Linked DNA regions of Homo sapiens: all the other regions are linked to region 2. The links are contacts of gene promoters, found by promoter capture Hi-C in blood cells and fetal thymus (Javierre and others, 2016). All regions are on one chromosome and are shown on one strand. Each heading gives the region's core, a stretch centred on a gene start or on the middle of the fragment in contact. The rest is flanking DNA. Distances are from core to core; before and after follow the strand shown.

Region 1 (4,479 bases), core at 1,430-3,929, 60 kb before region 2:
CTGAATCGTACTCTGTTGTGTACATGTACCAAATTTATTTATTTATTACTCCATTGATGGACACGGGTTGATTTCATATTTTGGCTATTGTGAATAGTGCTGCAATAAACATGGGGGTGCAGGTATCCCTTTGATATATTGATTTCCTTTCCTTTGGATAAATACCCAGTAGTAGGATTGCTGGATCATATGGTAGTTCTATTTAGGGGAGAGGGGTGATGGGGAGAGATTGGTTAATGGGTACAAACAAACAGCTGGATAGAAGGAATAATTTCCAGTGTTCGATTGCACAGTAGGGTGACTATAGTAAACAATTTATTGTGTATTTCTTTTTTCTTTCTTTCTTTTCTTCCTTCCTTCCTTCCTTCCTTTCTTTTTCTTTCTTTCTTTCTTTCTTTGAGATGGAGTTTCACTCTTATCGCCCAGGCTGGAGTGCAATGGTGCAATCTTGGCTCACTGCAACCTCTCCCGGGTTCAAGCGATTCTCCTGCCTCAGCCTCCCGAGTAGCTAGGATTACAGGTGCCAGCCACCACATCCAGCTAATTTTTTTGTATTTTTAGTAAAGATGGGGTTTCATCATGTTGGCCAAGCTGGTCTAGAACTCCTGACCTCAGGTGATCTACCTACTTTGGCCTCCCAAAGTGCTAGGATTACAGGCGTGAGCCACCATGCCCAGCCTTTTTTTTCTTTTTGAGACAGGGTCTCCCTCTGTAACCCCGGCTGGAGTGCAGTGGCACCATCACAGTTCACTGCAGCCTTGACCTGCTGTGCTCAAGTGATCCTCCCACCTCAGCCTCCTGAGTAGCTGGCAGCACAGGCGCATGCTACCATGCCTGGCTAATTTGTGCATTTCGTAAAGACTGAGTCTCACTATGTTGCCCAGACTGGTCTCAGACTCCTGGGCTCAAGTGATCCTCCCACCTTGGCCTCCCAGAGTGCTGGGATTACAGGTGTGAGCCACTATGCCCAGCCTATTGTATATTTCAAAATAGCTAGAAGAGAAGATTTGAAACGTTCCCAACACAGTGAAATGATAAATGTTCGAGGTGATGGATATCCTGATTACCTTGATCTGATCACTATGCATTGTATGCTTGTGTCACAGTATCATATGTATCCCATAAATATGTACAATTACTATGCATCAATTTAAAAAATTTAAAATGTACCCCCAGGATTTGAATTGATGGAGGTGACTGAGTGACAACACAGAGCGACCAAGGACACTGAAAGAATTCATCACTTGCATCTCCCAGGAGAACAGGGCATGGCACACACGCAGGACCACACACGGGGCCACAGGGGGAGCACCAAGTTTGGTCAGGAGGCTGAAAGGAAGGATCAGAACAGCACAGGCCACAGCCTTTTGTGGGGTTTCCACCCGAAGTGCAAGGCAGGCCAGGGGAAGCAGCCCGGGTCTGGCTAGTTGGAATAATTCCAGGGGGCCTTGGGCTTAGGGGCCGTCCCTAGTTGTCTCTACCTGGCTCTGGGTGATTTAGGGCAGGGGAAATACTGGCTTGGTGTGAGAGTTAAATAGAGATGGTTGGGGGGCCTGTGATTGGGATTGGTTGGAGGGTTTGTAACTATTATTACTTTCAAACACTTGCAAAAACCAGCTTGCAGGGGAGGTATAAATGCTTTTGGCCCTGTGATTTGGCCCTGTGATAAATGGATGCCAAATAGACCAAATACAGTCTCTAAGAAAACACAGTGAAACACCCCAGCCCACAGCTCTTGGCACTGCCCAGGTTGCGTCTGGAGTTAGTGGCCCTGCTAGTCCCAGCAGGGTTTCTTCCTTCTTCCTCTTCATCCAGCAAACCCCAGACAGTGTAATTGGCGGTTTCTTTGCTTCTGTTCCCACAAGAGGAGAGCCGGCCAGCTACAGACACCCCTGCCCCAAGGCCTAGTGCAGCTACAACCAGATGTGGCTGATCCCAGCCCCTGGGGACAGCGATGGGGCCGGAGTCTGGCTGGTGGGGTCAGGGCCCCTGGCGCATCAGCCTCAGAACTTCCTCCTAAGAGCAGAGTGCCCTCTGGTGGGCCACTGGAAAACAACCCAATTCTAATTTCCACGTTTGGAGATGCAATATGCTTCAAGCCGGGTTATTAGGGCTCCCCAGGAAATTTCTCTTTCCCCACTAGTGCCCCTTGTGGAATTCACCTGAGCAGCACTGATGAAAATGTATAAATCAAATATACACTGTGCACAAAGCTTTTTTCCCTCCTCATAAATGAGTCTGGTACTGTTTCCTGACCCAAATACCTGCTCAGTGAGTTTATTGGGTAAATCACCCAAGCAGCTCCAATTACAAGGGGTAGAGTGTGGTCAGGATTAGACTAAGGTGAGCGTTGGGTGCAGGTGGAGGACACACAGCTGAGGTTGAGTAGGCTGGCTGTGGCAGAGGCAGCACTGAGTTGAGCGTTGAAGAGAAACTGGATTTCAGAATAGTGGCTCACGCCTGTAATCCCAGCACTTTGGGAGGCCGAGGTGGGCGGATCACTTGAGCTCGGGAGTTCGAGACCAGCCTGGCCAACATGGTAAAACCCCATCTCTTCTAAAAATACAAAAATCAGCCAGGTGTGGTGGTGCACACCTATAATCCCAGCTACTCAGGAAGCTGAGGCATGAGAATCGCTTGAACCCGGGAGACAGAGGTTGCAGTGAGCCAGATCGCACCACTGCACTCCAGCCTGGGTCACAGAGCCAGACTCCATCTGAAAAAAAAAAAAAAAAAAAAAAAAAAAAAAAGCAGGGGTGGGGTGGGGGAGGAGGGGAGGCACCTACCAGGTGAAAGAAACAACATAAGTCTGGCGCTTCTCCTCACTTTTCACCCCGAACCTGCCCATTCCTCTTTTTCCCTCCCAGCAGTCTTTCCAATCACAGCAGTCTCCAGGTCACACCTCCTTAAAATGCCCTAAGGTCACATGGCAGTTGTCCTATCTCTTGCATCTCACCATCCCCCAGCTTGCACCGGATGCTGCTCGTGAATACTTGGATTCTGAATCCTGCGTTTTGTTGCCAGTCCTGGATCCACCTCTTCCCTGCCTTTATGCAATGCCCCACCCTATCTCACTTTCAGGGACCCTCTGGCAACTCCCCACCTCCTCACAGGCCTCCACGGCAGCTCTACTTACCTAAGCTTACAATATGGGCTTCTGAGTAGGATTTCAGTAGGGAAAAAACAAAAAAGGTCTTGCTTTTTTAAACGAAGTTTGCTGGAGGCCAGGCGCGGTGGCTCATGCCTGTAATCTCAGCACTTTGGGAGGCCAAGGCGAGTGGATCACATAAGGCCAAGAGTTCAAGACCAGCCTGACCGACATGGTGAAACCCCGTCTCTACTAAAAATACAAAAAAATTAGCCGGGTGTGGTGGCGGGCGCCTGTAATCCCAGCTACTTAGGAGGCTGAAGCAGGAGAATCGCTTGAACCTGGGAGGCGGAGGTTGCAGTGAGCTGAGATGGAGCCATTGCACTCTGAGAGTCCTTCCAGCTCTCGCCTGCAGGGTGCAGGGGTCCAGACCCCGGCTGTCTCTGGCCTTTGCTGTCTTAGGAGCTTCTCCTTGCCTCCCTCCCTTTTTAGATCATCCTTCCTCCTCCCGGTGGATTCAGAGGACAATTTTCCATGAAGAACTCAGACTGGGCCATCCCCAGGACTCTGGGTCTTAGGCAGTTGTTCAAGTGATCCTCCTCGGCATCAGGACAGGAGATGAGCCCACTTGCGGCTGAAGAGACCCTAGAGTCACAGGCAAGCCAGTTCACTGGTTTTATCAACCTCGTTATCGCTGTGCCCGTACTGGAAAGTAAACTTGGGTTCTATCATCTGCCCTGCAATGAGCTGACTGGCCACAAGGGAGCAGCAGGAGGCAACAGCCGGGCCTGGAAATTGCCCTTCTAACCGCAGCCCCACCAAACAATGCCCGCCACAAGGTCCTCGGAAGAGAAGGACCCGCGCCCCTGCCGCCAAACTGTGTTCAGAGAGAAGCCACGGCCCCATCGCTGGTTGGGAGAGTGAGAGAGAACTAGAAGGCTTAGGCCCCGACTCCTCTGTGCTCAGCCCTTAGCTGGGCATGGGCAGAGGGGTCTGGGGGTGGGGTGTCCTGAGCCTCTAGTCCCCATCTTTTTTAGCACAGGGGTGTGGGGTCCCCGGAGTGGCTCACGGAGCTCTCAACCTAATGGAGGAGCTGGGACTGCCACACACGCGCACGCACACACACACACACACACACACACACACACACACAATGAGAGAACCACGCGGAGCAGGGGTCGGCTTCAGGGCAGTCCCTAAGAGCTGGGGGAGCGAGTCGGTGGGCGGTTGTGCTGGGCCGGCTTCCGGCAGGCTGGGCGCAGCCAGGGCCGGGTGGGGATCACACTTCAGTCAGGAGGAACCACAGGGCCGCGTGGCGCCCGCCTGCCTGAGCCTGGAGTGGGCTAGGAAGTCAGCCGCAGGCAGAGGGCCCAGGACCCACAGAGCCCCCT
Region 2 (4,815 bases), core at 133-2,632:
CCCAATTTCCTCCTCTGACCAAAGGGGTAATAACAGTACCAGCTTCAGAGGGTCTTTAATGCATGAAAAGCACTCAGAAAGCCCAGCAGCTGGGAGCAATTCTTGTTTATAGCTGCCTGACCCCACTCCAGTGCTCACTCCTCCACCCAACACAGCAAAAGTATAGAGTGGGGTGGAGAAGAGGAGTCAGGAATCCATGCTGAGGACAGGTTCTGGACAAAAATGGATAGTGAGCCCAGAGCAGTGGCTCACGCCTGTAATCCTAACACTTAGGGAGGCCAAGATGGGAGTTTCACTTGAGGTCAGGAGTTCGAGACAAGACCGGTCAGCATGGTGAAACCCCATCTTTACTAAAAATACAAAAATTAGCCGGGCATGGTGGCAGGTGCCTGTAATCCCAGCTACTCAGGAGGCTGAGGCAGGAGAATCACTTTAACTCCAGAGGTGGAGGTTGCAGTGAGCTGAGATTGCGCCACTGCACTCCAGCCTGGGCAACAGAGACTCCATCTCAAAAAATAAATAAATAAAATGAAATAAAAAATAAATTTAGGCTAGACGCAGTGGCTCATGCCTGTAATCCCAGCACTTTGGGAGGCTGAGGTGGGAGGATCATCTGAGGTCAGGAGTTTGAGACCAGCCTGGCCAACATGGTGAAACCCTGTCTCCACTAAAAATACAAAAATTAGCCAGGTGTGGTGGTGCATGCCTGTAATCCCAGCTACTCAGGAGGCTGAGGCAGGAGAATCGCTTGAACCTGGGAGGTAGAGGTTGCAGTGGGCCAAGATTGCCCCACTGCACTCCATCCTGGGCAACAAGAGTGAAACTGTGTCTCAAAAAATAAAATAAAATAAAATAAAAAATAATAATAATAACATTTTAAAAAATGGATGGTGGGAGGGCAGCACCAGCTTTCCAAGGGAGAACCCCTTGCCCCAGCCCTGCCTTCCCCCACTCAGACCTGACCCTTAGAAGCTCCTCACCCACACCCCTAGGGCCCTATGCTTGAGTTTTCTGGGGCAGGAGATCCCGAGGCTATGCCCACCACAACCCCCAACCCAGGTGAGACAGATCCTAGACTCCAAGTCTTCAAGACTGCCCATTCAACAGACTTGTAAACTGAGGCCCAGAGAAGCACTGCAACTAGCCGAAGGCCGCAAGAGCCAACAGCAGACTGAGGTCTTCTGCTCTTGGTCCAGTGCTTGTCCAAGACATGAGGAAGACACCCCACCGTCTGCCCTGGCCTCTGTAGGGGGTCTTCCTGCTCCCCAGCCTCACCTGCCTCAGTTGCTTGAAGCGCCACAGCAAGGAGGACGAGGACAACCAGGAGTGCAGTCTGTAGGCGATCCATGCTCTGTCCTGTATGTCTCAGCCCAGGTGTCTGCAAAGGGACATAGGAAGACCTGCTATTTAAGGTGCTGGCTCCACCCACAAGCCTCACTTACTTACCTCTTAGTCACCGGGGTGCCCAGAGTCACTTGACATTCACATCTCAAAAGAAGAACTACCTCCCACTTCCTCCAAAGTGGAGAAATTCTCTTTGGCGGGGAACCACTCAGAGGGGACCCCCCCTCAACTCTGTCCTCGCCTCTGGTTTCAGACAGACTTGTAAAATCCCCCTCTTAGAGGCTTGTGCTCCCCAGGGTCTCTGCACTGTGTGGCCTTGGCCATGTCTGGGTGTCTCTGGGACTTGGTTTCCCCATCTGGAAATGGGGGAGATGGTTTCACAGCTCTGTTGACTTCACTGGTTGTAAATCAAGTGAGAACGTGGACCAACCCTCACCTAGAATTGAGGCCTGTCTTGTACCCTTAATGACGGCATTACTGGTCTCTCTTCAATGGGAGAGGCCTATGGACCCATTGACCCATCTGGGGCTTCTCGTGAAGTCCACATTTGGGCCAGGTCGTGGATTTCTCAACGGTTTATGGAAAGCATCTACCCACACTTCTGTCCTGCCTGATCTTCCTTCCCAGTGGCTGCCGGGCTCTCCCTCCCCCACTCCTGTCTCAGTCCCTCACCATGTCCATGTCCCGTTGATTCTGCTTCCTAAATCTCTCTCAGATCTGCTCCTTCTCTCCAACCCCACTGTTCCTGCCCAGTCCAGGCCACCTCCACCTCAGGCTGGGATGCTGGCCTCCTCAATGCCATCCCCACCCTGCAGCAGCCAGCGTGAGTGGTCCAGAGCTACACACTCTCTCTCCTGCTTCAGAACCCTGCCGTGGCTCCCCATTCACCTAAAGGCAGGTCCCGGGCTCCTGTCTGTGGCCTTCAAGGCCCCGTTTCCGGACAGGCCTTTCCCCACTGGTCTCCTTCCCCTGAGGGATCACACCACACTCCTCACACTTCCTCAAAAGGGACTGCGGCCTGTCCCTGGCCTTTAATGTCACTTTCCACATCTCTACCACATAAACTCCTACTTATGCGTCAAAGCTGTTTGAAATGTCATGTCCTTGGTAAGCACACCCTCTCAGGACTTCAAAGCCTTCTAGGGGACCTGGAATGTGGCCCTGAGCAGACTGGGTCAGGTTTTCTCTTTCTCAAGCCCCTCCCTAGAAGTCAGACTCCAAGCTCTAGGAGGCTGGGGTCTCCCTTCATTTTTCTTGGCATTCCCAGGGCCCTCTGAGGATCAGGCACATGTTGGGTGCTCAGAACACATGGGCTGGGTGCAGTGATTCATGACTGTAATCCCAGCACTTTGGAAGGCCCAGGCAGGTGGATCACCTGAGGTCAGGAGTTCAAGACCAGCCTGGCCAACATGGAGAAACCCCATCTCTACCAAAAATACAAAAATTGGCCGGGTGTGATGGCATGCGCCTGTAATCCCAGCTACTTGGGGGGCTGAGAGGCAGGAGAATCGCTTGAATCCGGTGAGAGGCAGAGGTTGCAGTGAGCCAAGATTGCGCCACTGCACTCTAGCCTGGGTGAGAGAATGAGAGTCCATCTCAAAAAAAAAAAAAAAAAAAAAAAGAAAGAAAGAAAGAAAAAAAAGAACACATCTAATGAAGGAGGAAACTGAGGTTCAGAGAGAGAGGACTTGCCCAGTTCACACAGCCACACAGAGGCTACGCCAGGCCTGGAACTCAGAACTTGGGACTCCATGTATAAAGGGACCCATCCATTCATCCAATTCCTTCATTCAGCAAACATTTATTGAACGCTGTGGTAAACAGAATAATGGCCCCCCTAAATGTCCACATTCTAATCCCCAAAACCTATGAATATGTTACCTTACATGGTAAAAAGGACTTTGCAGATGTGACTGTTTAGGGTTTAGGATTTTTGTTGTTGTTGTCGTTGTTTTAGAGGCAGGATCTCACTCTGTCACACAGGCCGGAGTGCAGTGGTGCAATCACAGCTCACTGCAGCCTTGACCTCCTGGGCTCAAGCGATCCTACTGCCTCAGCCTCTCAAGTAGCTGGGACTACAGGTGTGTGCCACCACGCCCTGCTCATTTTTATTTCTTGTAGAGATGGGGATCTCACTATGTTGCCAGGGCTGGTCTTGAACTCCTGGCCTCAAGCAATCCTCCTATCTTGGCCTCTTGAAGTGCTAGGATTATGGGTGTGAGCCACCATACCTGACCTAGGATCTTTAAAGAGGGAGATTTATTGGATTATCTAGACAGGCCCAAGGCAATCACAGAGTTATTTCAAGAGGGAGGCTGTGGGTCAGAGTCAGAAGAGATGATGGATGACAGAGCAGAGGTCCCAGTGACGTGGAACTGTGAACCCAGGGATGCAGGCGGGCTGGAGAAGCTGGAAGAGGCAAGGAAACAGATTCTCCCCCAGAGCCTCCAGAAAGAACTTATCCCTCCCCACACCTTGATTTTAGTCCACTGAGACTGATTTAGGACTTCTGACCTCCCAGGCTATTGGATAATAAATTTGTGATGTTTTAAGCCACCAAGTTCATGGTCATTTGTTACAGCAGCCAGAGGAAGCTCATACAAGCACCTACTATGTGCCAAGTGCACTGCCAGAGCCTGGGAAGGCAGCCTGAACAGGAGAGCAGGGGCCCCTGCTCTCATGGAGTTTGTCTTCCACAACAGACAAACATGGCAAACAAGGTAATGTCAGGCTGGGAGGAACACCGGGAAGCGAATGAAACAAAGAAGCAGCTTTGGGATAGGCAGTCGGGAAAGGCCTCTAGAACGGGGTGACATTTCAGCTGAAATTCAAAGATAGAAAGGAGGCCAGGCACGGTGGCTCATGCTTGTAATCCCAGCACTTTGGGAGGCTGAGGCAGGCAGATCACTTGAGGTCAGGAGTTCAAGACCAGCCTGGCCGATGTGGTGAAACCTCATCTCTACCAGAAATACAAAAATTAGCCATACATGGTGGCATGCACCTGTAATCCCAGCTACTTGGGAGGCTGAGGCAGGAGAATTGCTTGAACCCCGGAGGCAGGCAGAGATTGCAGTGAGCTGAGATCGCACCACTGTACTCCCGCCTGGGTGGCAGAGCGAGACTCCATCTCAAAAAAAAAAAAAAAAAAGAAGATAGGAAGGAGCCTGCCAGGGAGCACAGCAAATGCAAAGGCCCAGACAGAGTGAGAGGGCTGAACAGCTGAGACAGTGTGGGTAGAGACAGAATGGGTAGAGATGCAGAGCACAGCTGAGTGGAGAGGCTGGCAGGCAGGGACCGCAGGGTTCCTGTGAGCTCCTGCTAGGATGCAATCTGAAGTGCACGGCATCATCTCGGAGGACCTCTTTTCAAAAGCCATGACCCAGGACCAGTCACAAAAGAACAAACACTGTATGATTCCACTGCTTTGGGGAACCTGGAATAGTCACATTCACAGAGACAGAAGGCAAAATC
Region 3 (4,772 bases), core at 174-2,673, 56 kb after region 2:
TGGGCAAGTCACTCAGCCCACCTGAGCCTTACCTCCCTGGTCTGCAAAATGGGGTGAAAGTGGGAAGCTAGCAGCCCCTGCTTCAAAGCCCTTGCCTTCAAGGGAAACCAAGCATCTAGTAACCTGGCTCCCCTATGGCCTTCGTGACCTCCTATTGCATCCCTACATCCTCTCTCTCCACCCTGACACCCCACACACACACCAGCCAGCCAGCAGGGCTTGTGTGTTTTACCCCAAAACACATCCTGAATCTTGAATTCTACCACCTTTTGCAATCTCCACTTCCCTGGTCCAGCCATCATCATCTCTTACCCTCCCTGCCCTGGCCTTCCCCCTGGACTTCCAATTCTTCCCTTGGCCTGCCGTCCATCCTCCACACAGCAGCCAAAGGGATAGTTTTTGAAGGGCCCTCAGGACCATGCCACTCCCCTGCTTAAAACACTCCAGGCTGGGCACAGTGGCTCACACCTATCATCTCAGCATTTTGGGAGACCAAGGCCGGAGGATCTCTTGAGCTCAGGAGTTCGAGAACAGCCTGGGCAAAGTGTCAAGATCCTGTCTCTACAAAAAGTATAAAAATTAGCCAAGTGTGGTGGTGCACACCTGTAGTCCCAAATACTTGGGAGGCTGAGGCAGGGATTGCTTGAGACCAGGAGATTGTCTGCAGTAAGCCAAGATTGTGCCACTGGACTCCAACCTGGGCCACAGGGCTGGACCCTGTGTCAAAACAACAACAACAACAAACAAAAACACAGCAGTTACTCCATCACAGAAGAAAATCCAAACTCCTTTCCCTGGCACTCCAGCCCTGTGTGATATGGCCTGAACCTTCCCATCACCTTACCCCTGCCACACTGGCCTTGCTGTCCCTCCAACAGACTATATTTCTCTCTGCCTCAGAGCCTTTGCACTGGCTATGTCTTTTATCTGAAATGCTGCCACCTGCAGCTTTGATCTTGCTTGTGTTTCTCCTTTTGAACTCAGTGTCAGCTCCTCACAGAGGCCCTCCCTAACCACCCTGCCTAGGAGAGCCCCAATCACTCTTGATCACTGTTAAAAGGGTATTTTTTTTTTTTTGAGATGGAGTCTCACTCTGTTACCCAGGCTGGAGTGCAATGGTGTGATCTCAGCTCACTGCAACCTCTGCCTCTCGGGTTCAAGCAATTCTCCTTCCTCAGCCTCCTTAGTAGCTGGGATTACAGGCAAGTGCCATGACGCCTGGCTAATTTTTGTATTTTTAGTAGAGACGGGGTTTCACCATGTTGTCGAGGCTGGTCTTGAACTTCTGACCTTGTGATCTGCCCACCTCAGCCTCCCAAAGTGCTGGGATTACAGGCATGAGTCACCTCGCCTGGCCAAAAGGATAATTTTTAAGATAAAATCATAATTCTCATATAAATATAAAATGAACACGTCAAAGATTTTATTTTAGTCATTAATTAATGGGAGGACCTGTTCAATGTTATAGCCAATTCAAAAGAGAATTCAAAGACACACATATATTGGCAATCAGGAATGCTGAAATGAATTTATAAGCAGATTGCAAAATTGGTCAATATCCACAGGGCAATGATCAATTGCATTCTACCCTAACAAAATTCACCTGTATTTCTGTGGACAAGAATTATTTGGACATAAAAGTAATGAAAGGTGCAAGCCCTTATAGAATCAGATCCAGCTATCTTTTTTGCCTGTTTTAAAGTCTTTCATGAGTTTCTTGATGCATCCTCTACCCAGCATTTAACAACACCTGGATGTATTTGTCCACCTGTTTCTTATCCTTCTCCCTTCGCTCCATGCCTGAATGTATCTTGAGAGTGGAAATTCTGTTTTGTTCACAGCATCTAGAAGAGTGGCACATAGCAAGTGCTTAATAAATGTTTGTTGACTTTCTTTCCAGCTTCCAGGGCAATTTGTATTTTAGAAGAGGACACAAAAGAGTTTAGTGCTAAACCTAAAGGAAAGAATTCTGGCAGTCAATGAGGAGAGGACATTTGGGACAGGGAAAGAGGAGGATTTCATTGTCTTTCAGATAACCAGGACCTCTGCCCACCCCCATGGGGCTGCATCCCAAGCTCCAAGCATCTCAAGGGAATCTAATCCAAGGGTGGTAAGTGCTGCTGTTCTCTGGCCGAGGCCGCTCTGTGATACCATCTCAGACAAGTCCGAGGGCACTAAGAGGTTAATGTGACCCCACTGCTCACACCTTCTAGGCCTGACCCCTGGACTCCAAAGTTGGCTCAGAGATGTTCGAGGGTCTTGGACCCTCTCTTCTAGTGCCTGTGTACAGAGAGGGGCAGCAGCTGCCATTGTAGGAATATGAGTCATTAATGAGGGAATTCATTAATTAATGTGTAATTGTTACACACCAGGTCAGCGGCCCAGCCCCCTGAGATCCTAGAAATCCTTCTGGAGAAGGGCACCCTCTCGGTACCGAGGTCTTCTGGTCCCTGGAAACAGCCTGTGCGCGGCGTGCGTAAGCCTAGAGGGGGTGGAAGGGAAGAGAGGAAGATGCCGCGGGGGCCAGGAAAAGAGAGATGAGTCACGAAATGAGGGGATGCAGGAAGGAGGAAGCGAGGGAAGAATGAATCCATGGGATCTTCCCTGCGTACCTACTGTGTGCCGGGTACGGTTTGGGCACTGGGGACATAGGAATAGGGCGGGTCTGGCTGTGCAGCTGCAGGCCTCGTTCTATCCCGGAGCCTGAGTAAATGAATTATAACACATATACAAATGTGAAGCTGCAGCTGGGGCGAGTATTCGGAAGGAGAGCGCGGTAAGAGTGCCAGGCGGCCTTGCAATACCTGGGCTTTACCTAGATTGGGCGCCAGCCCACGGAAATGTCTGCGAATCAGTGCAGGTATACGGACTTGATTGCATTGTGCACAAGGGAAATGCAAGGTTGCTTGCAGATTTCAGGAATCAAAGCTGACATGATAGTACATGTATGAATGCAGAATGAATACAGGCTGGAGGCACGAATGCATGTGTATTGAAGTAACAGTCTTCGGTCTCGGCCTTCTCTAGTAGGCCTTGCGCACCCTCTGGCGTCGCCTAGGTGCATCGCGCTGACCTTCCTTGTCCCATCTCTCCACGCCCATTGGAGCAAGTGAGTGTATCTCGCTCCACCCAACGCCGGGCGGACAACTAGGAGTGGGTCTTCGCTGCCCACTACGCATGCGCATATTGCAGAACTTGTGAAGAGGCTTTATGCGCCACACACTGCAAGCAGTCAGGATGGCCGAGCGGTCTAAGGCGCTGCGTTCAGGTCGCAGTCTCCCCTGGAGGCGTGGGTTCGAATCCCACTTCTGACAGAGCTCAATTACTTTTCCTCATCAACACCGCAGATCAGTGAGGTTATGATGTCTTGTGTGTATGTGTTCTGTGTATATGTTCTTATAATCTTTTTTTATTCTTTTACAGATCAATGAGGTTATGATGTCTTGTGCGTATATGTTCGCATAATCTTAATTGTTTTACAAAACGAGTATTTTCTTATTAACGAGCATTTTCTTTTTTAAAAAAGAATCTCGCTCTGTCGCCTAAGCTGGAGTGTGGTGGCGACATCCTCCCGCCTCAACCTCCTCCGAAGTTGGGAGTTCAGAATCACACGACCACGTCCTGTCAGACTTTTTCTTCCCCACAGACATTCATTTAGACTTTGGATTGTGTGTAAAACGTACGGTCCTCTGTGTTTGAGGGCCTCTCTTGGTGTGCGGTCGTCGAAGATTTCTCTTCTGAAATACCGGAAAAGAGCGCTTGTCAGAAGTGGGATTCGAACCCACGCCTCCAGGGGAGACTGCGACCTGAACGCAGCGCCTTAGACCGCTCGGCCATCCTGACTTCCTAGGAGAGACTATTTTGGGGTCTGATGTAGTTCCTCTCATGCTTCAACGACGCTCGGGACTCAGAACCCAGAGGCGGTGTCCCGGGCAGTTCCGAGTCCGGCCTGCAGCTTAGGTTATCCACAACCAAACCCATCCGGTGCAGCGAGACTCACTGCTGTGGTCAAACTGGCGCTTTCAACTGAATACACAGATAATTTAAATGGAAAATCAGTTTCCCTTACCATCAACAGAAATAAACACAATGAAAACGAAATAACGTTGCTAAATTCTAGCTGCCTGCCCAGGCTCTGAGCCTCAAGTGGTGGTATTATGAACTATTACTAATACCGGTCGGATGTTTCGGGCTGTGAATGGGGCACTGGCGGAGTAGGGGGCGGGGTTTGGAGAATTATTGTTGGAAGGAGGACGCTCTATAAGGTTTTTGTCATCCGCTCCTCAGGACGGGAGGCCTTGGGTTGGGAGATCCCACTCTGCAAATGATTACCTAGGGCCTCATTCAGAAAGAGTTGGCTTTTAGACCTTTCTAATAAGCTGATCAAGGGAAAAAGTTGGAGATTGTTAAGCTTGGGGAAGAGAATTATTATCTGTCTACAAAAGCCTGATATACAAGGGGTTGGGATTGTGTCTGCCTGTCCTTTTTGCTCCAAGAACTGGGGCCCGAGGTGGGGGTGCAGTGGGTGAATAGTTACAGAGGATGGGTTTGGGAGAAGAAAGAGTTTGCTGGAAAGGAAACAGGGTGACTGTATTGGTAGTGATATCCCTGTCGCTGGAGGCATTCAAGACGAGGATCGATGGTCACTTGGTGGAAATGCTGCCAAGGAGATTCAAGAGTTTCTATTGCTGCTGTAACACATAACTACAAATTTGGTGGCTTAAAACCATCCCATTTATTTATCTTACAGTTCTGGAGGTCATAAGTCTAAA

What was found. Contacts are between HindIII fragments. The CHiCAGO score rates a contact against its expected background, and 5 or more counts as called.
Region 1: a contact is called between a fragment that was not itself captured here and the fragment with the promoter of CCL22 in region 2, in 1 of 17 cell types (endothelial precursors). The highest score is 6.0, in endothelial precursors.
Region 3: a fragment that was not itself captured here is called in contact with the fragment with the promoter of CCL22 in region 2 in 1 of 17 cell types (M2 macrophages); the score reaches 5.1 in M2 macrophages.

Annotation. Positions count from the first base shown.
Region 1 is chr16:57,416,592-57,421,070 of GRCh38, reverse strand. No RefSeq gene overlaps it. Among named protein-coding and RNA genes, the nearest start is that of CCL17, 14 kb to the right of the region's middle. RefSeq lists enhancers at 2,892-3,406, 3,923-4,438, 4,439-4,479. The HindIII fragment of the contact is 928 bases long and covers 2,216-3,143 here.
Region 2 is chr16:57,355,350-57,360,164 of GRCh38, reverse strand. CCL22 (C-C motif chemokine ligand 22) reads right to left here and starts at 1,382. Exons shown (of 3, transcript NM_002990.5): 1 at 1,276-1,382. The coding sequence starts at 1,348. The HindIII fragment of the contact is 35,589 bases long and covers 1-4,815 here.
Region 3 is chr16:57,299,022-57,303,793 of GRCh38, reverse strand. TRL-CAG2-1 (tRNA-Leu (anticodon CAG) 2-1) reads right to left here and starts at 3,843; the gene lies at 3,761-3,843. TRL-CAG2-2 (tRNA-Leu (anticodon CAG) 2-2) reads left to right here and starts at 3,232; the gene lies at 3,232-3,314. RefSeq lists silencers at 3,200-3,369, 3,660-3,869 and enhancers at 3,520-3,579, 3,990-4,119. The HindIII fragment of the contact is 5,981 bases long and covers 1-4,413 here.